Regions from separate parts of the Homo sapiens genome. Here region 1 is linked to region 2. The links are contacts of gene promoters, found by promoter capture Hi-C in human tissues and cell types (Jung and others, 2019). All regions are on one chromosome and are shown on one strand. Each heading gives the region's core, a stretch centred on a gene start or on the middle of the fragment in contact. The rest is flanking DNA. Distances are from core to core; before and after follow the strand shown.

Evidence for each region. The method cuts DNA at HindIII sites, captures the fragments that hold promoters and counts their contacts. A contact is called where the count stands out against the background at its distance.
Region 1: a contact is called between the fragment with the promoter of LYPD3 here and the fragment with the promoter of PRR19 in region 2, in 1 of the 25 tissues and cell types used here (thymus).

Annotation. Positions count from the first base shown.
Region 1 is chr19:43,463,596-43,467,589 of GRCh38, reverse strand. It overlaps LYPD3 (LY6/PLAUR domain containing 3), which reads left to right and starts at 1,982. Exons shown (of 5, transcript NM_014400.3): 1 at 1,982-2,097; 2 at 3,134-3,265; 3 at 3,821-3,991. The coding sequence starts at 2,019. RefSeq lists an enhancer at 3,230-3,761. The HindIII fragment of the contact is 17,258 bases long and covers 1-3,870 here.
Region 2 is chr19:42,300,882-42,304,528 of GRCh38, reverse strand. It overlaps PRR19 (proline rich 19), which reads right to left and starts at 2,397. Exons shown (of 3, transcript NM_199285.3): 1 at 2,026-2,397. PAFAH1B3 (platelet activating factor acetylhydrolase 1b catalytic subunit 3) reads left to right here and starts at 1,905. Exons shown (of 5, transcript NM_002573.4): 1 at 1,905-2,297; 2 at 2,490-2,579. The coding sequence starts at 2,220. RefSeq lists a silencer at 1,791-2,010 and enhancers at 1,564-2,218, 2,171-2,300, 2,381-2,430. The HindIII fragment of the contact is 37,239 bases long and covers 1-3,647 here.

The sequences.
Region 1 (3,994 bases), core at 733-3,232, 1.2 Mb before region 2:
TCACTATGTGTGTCAGGCCAACTCCCAGCTGTTAGGGGCTGTTTTTCTCTTTCTTCCATGGAAAACTACACGGCCCCCTGTTGGTTTCCTGGCCTTCTCTCTCACCCCTTCTAGAGTCATTTTCCTTTTTTACACAGAGTCCACAGTGACATTCTTTACCTTGTTTTTATTGAAGAATAACATACGTCCAGTGACAGGCCTGAGTCAGTGATTCTCAACGTATCTGTACACACATGCAGCTGTCACCTAGATGAAGATCGTGGGGGCTCCTCCCTGTTGCTCCTTCTGGGGCCATGCCCTCCCAAAGGTAACATGTGTTCTGATTTCTATCACCACTGGTTAGTTTTGTCTGTTCTGAAACTTCATATATATTCAGTTACACAGTATGTTTTGTTTGTTTGTTTAAGGCTTTCTAAACTCAACACCAAGTTTTTTCTTTTTTTAAAATAAAATGAGATGGGATCTCACTATGTTGCACAGCCTGGTCTCAAAACCCCTGGGTTCAAGTGATCCTCCCACCTTGGTGTCTCAAAGTGCTGGGATTACAGGTGTGAGCCACTGTGCCTGGCCCCAACACAAAGTTTTTGAGATATGTTGCTGCATATATCAGGTGTTGGATCTTTTCTATTGCTGTGTAGTATTCCATTGGCCGAACCAACCACTCTCTTTTGCCATTCACTTCTTTTTCTTTTTCCTTTTTTAAAATCATATATCCTACTCTCAGATCCATTTACTTTTTTTTAATTTTTAAATTTTTAAATTTTTTTTTTTGAGACAGGGTCTCACTCTGTTGCCCAGGCTGGAGTGCAGTGGCGTGATCTCAGCTCACTGCAACCTCCACCTCCTGGGCTCAAGTGATTCTCCTGCCCTACCCTTCCGAGTAGCTGGGACAGCAGGTGCACGCCACTGCACCTGGCTAATTTTTTTAAATTTATTATTTTTTTTTAATAGAGATGAGGTTTCGCCATGTTGCCCAGGCTGGTCTCAAACTCCTGATCTCAAGTGATCCACCCAGCTCGGCCTCCCAAATTGCTGGGATTACAGGCATGAGCCACCGCGCCCGGCCTCCATTTACTTCTTGATGGCTAGCTGCACTATTTCTCAGGTTGATCATATTAGGAAGCAAATCTATTATGTCCTCCAGCTCATTTAGACCCTCTTAAAGGTTCTCTACTATTCTCAAAATTAATCCAAATCTCTTGTCGGGGCCTCTGATGCCCTGAGTGTCTCGGCCTCTGCCTGACTCTTTCATCTCAGTTCCTGCCCTTCTCTCATGGACTTCTGAGCTCAGGAGCACTGCTCTCCTTTCCATGTTTGAATGGTCCATCCTACCTCCTACCTCCAGGTGCTCCCACGTGCTGTTCCCTCTGCTTGTAAAGGGCTGTGTCCCTCTCTTGACCTGCTCTAGCTGGCTACATCCTGCATGCCCTTGAGGTTGCATCTCAGATAACCTCAAGGAAGCCCTCACCGACCAGCCCCCACTTCTAGACTGCACATCTCCTTGTATCACTACACTTTTTCCTTCAGTGTCTTAGTCTCTTTGGTAAACACCAATTTGTACGATTATTTGATTAGCATCTGTCTCCCCCATCAGACTGTGAGCTCTGCCAGGACAGGCACTGGTTCTGTCTTCATCTCCAGCATTACCTAGACCAAAGCCGGGCACACTGTAGATGCTCATTTAACAGTTACCGAACACTGAATGTCGAGTAGCCCCAGCCTGTCTTTAAGCCCCACTACTCTCCCACTCCAAACACACACAGACTTTCTCCCGCGAGCTGTCAGGGAACCTCAGCTCCCACCCTTTCCCTCCTTGGCAACTTCACAGGGCAGGGACCGCTCTCCCTTGGATGACGCGCCTAGGGGCGGGGCCCCGCCCCACAGCCGACGCTGAGTTGGCCCGGTTGGGCAAGGCTGGGGTTGCCTGGGGCGAGGTTACTCATCCTGGGCTCAGGTAAGAGGGCCCGAGCTCGGAGGCGGCACATCCAGGGGGGACGCCAAGGGAGCAGGACGGAGCCATGGACCCCGCCAGGAAAGCAGGTGCCCAGGCCATGATCTGGACTGCAGGCTGGCTGCTGCTGCTGCTGCTTCGCGGAGGTGGGTCTGCTGCCCGGAGAGGTGGAGGGGGTAGAGTGGGGGCTCTTAGGGAGGAGGCTCCTCTGGCCCCGTACAGAGAAGGCTGTGGGAAGGATCCCCACATAAGCAGAGGGCACTGTGGGCAAAGTTCCCCCATCCTAAGCAAGGGAGGCAGAGGGAAGGGTCCTCCACCATGGGCCGTAGGAAGGGTTCCCCACCACGGACAAGGGGAGCTGTGGGCAAAATTTTCCTATCCTGAAGCTGCAGAAAGAAGTCCCCTGTTCCTAGGCCGGGCGCGGTGGTTCATGCCTGTAATCTCAGCACTTTGGGAGGCCGAGGCAGGCGGATCATGAGGTCAAACGATCGAGACCAGCCTGGCCAACATGGTGAAACCCTGTCTCTACTAAAAATACAAAAATTAGCTGGGCGCGGTAGCGCGAGCCTGTAGTCCCAGCTACTCGGGAGGCTGAGGCAGGAGAATCGTTTGAATCCAGGAGGGGAGGTTGCAGTGAGCCGAGATTGCGCCACTGCACTCCAGCCTGGCGACAGAGCGAGACTCCGTCTCAAAAAAAAAAAAAAGAAAAAAAGAAAAAAAGAAAAAAGTGTTCCCTGTCCTGGGCAGAGAAGCTGTGGGTAGTGTTCTCTCATTTGAGCAGAAGGGGGCTGTGGGAAGGGATCCCTCACTGAGCACAGTCTACTGTGGGAAAAGTTCTCCCACACACTGTGGGAAAAGTTCTCTCATTCTGAGCAGAAAACCGTGAGGAGGTATCCTTCCTACCCCGGGATGAGGGGCTTCATGGCGGGGATCGCCTACAGTGGGCATACAGGGCTGTCGGAAGGATGTGCCCACAGTTGGCATAGTGGGTGTGAAGGAAAAGGGTCCAGTGATTCCCGTGCTTCCAGATTTGTGGAAAGCTTTTCCCTACTCCTGCCCTGGAAAAGTGTGTGCAATAAGACTGTCTAATCCCGGGACAGAGGGCATGGGAAGGACTATTTCTCCTTGGGGGTGGACGCTTTAGCAAGGAGGGCTCAGGTCTATTCGGCTCCGCTCCCCCAGGAGCGCAGGCCCTGGAGTGCTACAGCTGCGTGCAGAAAGCAGATGACGGATGCTCCCCGAACAAGATGAAGACAGTGAAGTGCGCGCCGGGCGTGGACGTCTGCACCGAGGCCGTGGGGGCGGTGGAGACCAGTGAGTGGGGACCCCCGGGCCACGCACACCACTGCAGGCTCCTCCGGCCCAGCCCCGCCTCCTTATAGTCCTTTCTGGATCTGGCCACGCCCCTTTAACGCGGCCCCACCCCTCCCTTTCAGCCTGGCCGGGACCCTACGACACAGCCTTGCAGGCCAGGCCTTCTCTATTAACAATTACAAGCGCGAGGAGCAGAGAGTTGAGAACTGGGTGGGGCGGACGGGGAGAGCTCGGGTTTGGAACGAGGTCACGTCCTATGCACTTTTTCTGCTCCACCAATGAGACCTCCCCATCCCTGCCTGTCAACCAGGCTGTCTCCTCCGACTCAGCTCTTTGAGGTTCCGCCCCCGTTCCGTGACCCCGCTCCTCCCTGCTTCGGTCGTTCTTTCCGCTCTGAGCGGCTCTTTGGGGGCGTCCATCCGCCAATTCCTGCCTGTCGGTCCTGTGGTGTTGGCCTATTTGAGGCCCCGCCCCTCCCAGACCCTACCCAACTCTGGGCCACGCCCCATCTGAGACCACGCCCACAGCTAATCCCGCCCTTGTCCCTCTCCCTAGTCCACGGACAATTCTCGCTGGCAGTGCGGGGTTGCGGTTCGGGACTCCCCGGCAAGAATGACCGCGGCCTGGATCTTCACGGGCTTCTGGCGTTCATCCAGCTGCAGCAATGCGCTCAGGATCGCTGCAACGCCAAGCTCAACCTCACCTCGCGGGCGCTCGACCCGGCAGGTC
Region 2 (3,647 bases), core at 1,148-3,647:
TGCCCACCTCGGCCTCCCAAAGTGCTGGGATTACAGGCGTGAGCCACCGCGCCCAGCCTTTTTTTTTTTTTTTTTTTAGACAGGGTCTCACTGTGTTACCCAGGCTGGTCTCAAACTTCTGGGTTCAAGCGATCCTCGCACCTCAGCCTCCCCAGTAGCTGGGACTACAGGCATGCATCACTGCACCTGGCTCCCTCAGACTTTATTTGTTTGTTTATTTTTGTAATTAAGACAGAGTCTCGCTGTGTCACCCAAGCTGGGCCACTGTTGCCCAGGCTGGGCTGCAGTGGCGCGATCTCAGCTCACTGCAACCTCTGCCTCCCAGACTCAAGCAATTGTCCTGCCTCAGCCTTCCCAAGTAGCTGGGACTACGGGCGTGTGCTGCCATGCCTAGCTAATTTTTTTTTTTTTTTTGTATATTTAGTAGACACGTGGTTTCGCCATGTTGGCCAGGCTGGTTGACCTCAAGTGATCCGACCATGTCAGCCTCCCAAAGTGCTGGGATTACAGGCATGAGCCTCCATGCTGGCCTCCCTCAGACTTTAAAATCAAGCTATTCCACGATATTCCCCAAACCTAATAAGAAAGTGATTACCTGTGTCTTTTCTTTCTGCTTGCCCATTCTTCATTATCTTTCAGACCCAGCTGAGATACTACTCCTAGGAAACCCATAGTCCTCAGAGTCCTTCTCCTCTTCCTCCCCAGAGGTCCCTGTCTCTCCCTCAAACACAACTTTGACACCCCTACACCTCTGTGTCTGGATCTGTCTCCCTAAACACATTGGGACAAGGTCAGGAGCTGACCCACTCATTTACTACTCATTCAGCAAGCACTTGTGGAATAACCACTGTGTGCCCGGCCCAGTTCCAGGAAAGTGGATTGAAAACATAAACACAATGAATAACACTCATCTCTGTCTCAGTATCAATCCACCTCGAAGGAATGAATACATGGGAAGGTCCCACCTGGAGTGAGGCTACAAGAACATGACCAGGACGTTTAGCAGGGAGTGAGCCCCCCACCTGGTCCCAGAGAAGAGGGAGATCTGAGAAGACACTGAGGTCTGAGATTAATTTGGGGCAGCGTTGGGGGAGAGGCGCGACCCTAGGTGGCCTTGGCTATGGATGTAGGTTTCAGAGCTCAGACATACCCAGTTGGCCTGTGGGTTTAGAGAGAGTGTAGAGGCTGCAGATCTGCAAGATGATCTGCCGGAGGGACGCCAGACTGGACCTGAGCCCTGGAGGCGTCTCTAATTTCCTTTCTCTTTCTGCACCTTCTTCTACCCTCCAAGCAGGTCCTATGGTGTCTTGAATGCAAAGATATGTAGTTTATATGTTATGCCACGCGCGCGCACACACACACGGTGTTTTGAGTAGGGGTCCTGTGATGTCTTGAATGCAAAGATATGTACTTTAGATTTCAACACACACACACACACACACACACACACACACACACACACACCCACGGTGTTTTGAGTAGGGGAAGCCCACGAGTAGATAGGCTCACTAAAGCCCTGGCGCGGCCTTAGAGTGGCTCCTTAGAAGGGAGCCTCGAATTTTCACATTTTGTCATCTTCCTTTTCTGTCCCCCACATCAGTAGAAAATAGGAGCGTCCCCCCCAGCCAGGTGCATTCGAGCCACCCCTTCAAGGGAATATAAGAATGGACTCGTCCACTCGCTCCCCTCCCCCCACCACGTGAATGGGTCACCCCCCCCCCCGCAACAGTAGGTGGTCCCTTCCGCACATTTCACTCTGTACAGCAAATGGTTTCTTCCCATTTGCTAGACAGAGGGCTAGATTTTCCCCGCCCACTCTCGACTCTTCAGGTAGTTCGCCCCTCCCCGTGACCGGTGGGTGGTTTCTCCCTCCTCCCCGCCTCGGGAGCTGGATGGTCTCGCCTCTCCCTCCCCCCACCCCGTGCCGGGTGCGCGGCCTGGGAGTCAGCGGCCCGAGCGGGAAGCGCCGGGCGAGCCCACTGTGCGGCCGTCGTGGGGGAAGCGAAGGTTCCTGATTCCACCTACCTCCTAAGTGAAGGCTTCCGTCCCTGGAGAGGAGGCGGCGCCCTGTATCGGCCTTCGTCCTCCGCGGGTGTGCTAGCGTTGGGACGGTCCTTTGTTGCCGCGAGGGGTAGGAGTGGGCGTGGCGGAGCCAGCTCCGTTCGGAACACTCCCGGGCCGACCCGACTCGCTCATCCTGCAGGAGCTGCGGCGCCAAGATGAGTGGAGAGGAGAACCCAGCCAGCAAGCCCACGCCGGTGCAGGACGTACAGGGCGACGGGCGCTGGATGTCCCTGGTGAGCGTTCCCACCTGGGATATTGAGGAGTCCGGGGGCGCGGGGGGTGGCTCAGGAGAACGGCTGGTTCGTGCCACTCTCACTACCTGATTGGGAAACTGAGGGCAGTTGAGGAGGCGCTGCCTAAGGGAGCAGGGCGGGGCGGGCCCTGGAGCGTGCATGCCATTGACTCCCTCTCGCGCGCTCCCGCAGCACCATCGGTTCGTGGCTGACAGCAAAGATAAGGAACCCGAAGTCGTCTTCATCGGGGACTCCTTGGTCCAGCTCATGCACCAGTGCGAGGTGAGGGCAGTCCCTCTCCCCCTGCCCCATCCAGCCCTGTGTCCATGCTGACACATCTGGACCAGAACCCAGGCCAGGTGAGGTATTATGAGAGTACCCAGATTGGCCTCAGGCAGCCCGAGGCTCTGAGAATCTTGGTGTAAGGTGCAACATTCTATTGAGAAAGAAATGTATGCCTTGGTTTTATCAGATTGGATTTGTGTATAATGTACTAAGACCTAAAATGAGGCTTTCCTGCCATAGGCTTGCCTAAAGTGAGGCTCTTTCTTGTTTGCTTTAAGTAGTGCGCAGCCCTGTTGGGTTTACACAAAGCTATAGTCACTTTACAGGAAGCGAAGGGCAACTCTAATGGCACTCCACAAAGAGGACTCAATCATAATAATATCTTTCCACAAAGCATGTCCAACTGTAATGGGTTTCATCAAAATAAGTTTCAACTGTAATGCCATTGATTCAATGCATGGCTCAAGCAGACTGGATTTTCATGAAGTGAGTCTTGCTTCTATGGGGCTTGGTTTGTTTTGTTGGTTGGTTGGTTGGTTGGTTGGTTTTTGAGACAGGGTCTTGCTCTGTCACCCAGGCTGGCGTGCAGTGGTATGATCTCTGTTCACTGCAACCTCTGCCTCCTGGGCTCAAGTGATCCTCCCACCTTAGTCTCCGAGTAGCTGGGACTACAGGTGCACATCACCATGCACCTGGCTAATTTTTGTAATTTTTGTAGAGATGGGGTTTTGCCCTGTTGCGCAGGTTGGTCTTGAACTCCTGGGCTCAAGCAGTCCGCCCACCTCAGCATGAGCAACAGAGCCTGGGGCTTGGTTTAAAGTGAGAGACTCTAGGCAGGGTGTGGTGGCTTACGCCTGTAATCCCAGCACTTTGGGAGGCCAAGGCAGGCGGATGACCTGAGGCCAGGAGTTCGAGACCACCCTGGCCAACATGGCGAAATCCTGTCTCTACTAAAAATACAAAAATTAGCTGGGCATGGTGGCACATGCCTATAGTCCCAGCTACTTGGCAGGCTGAGGCAGGAGAATCGCCAGAACCTGGGAAGCAGAGATTGCAATGAGCCGA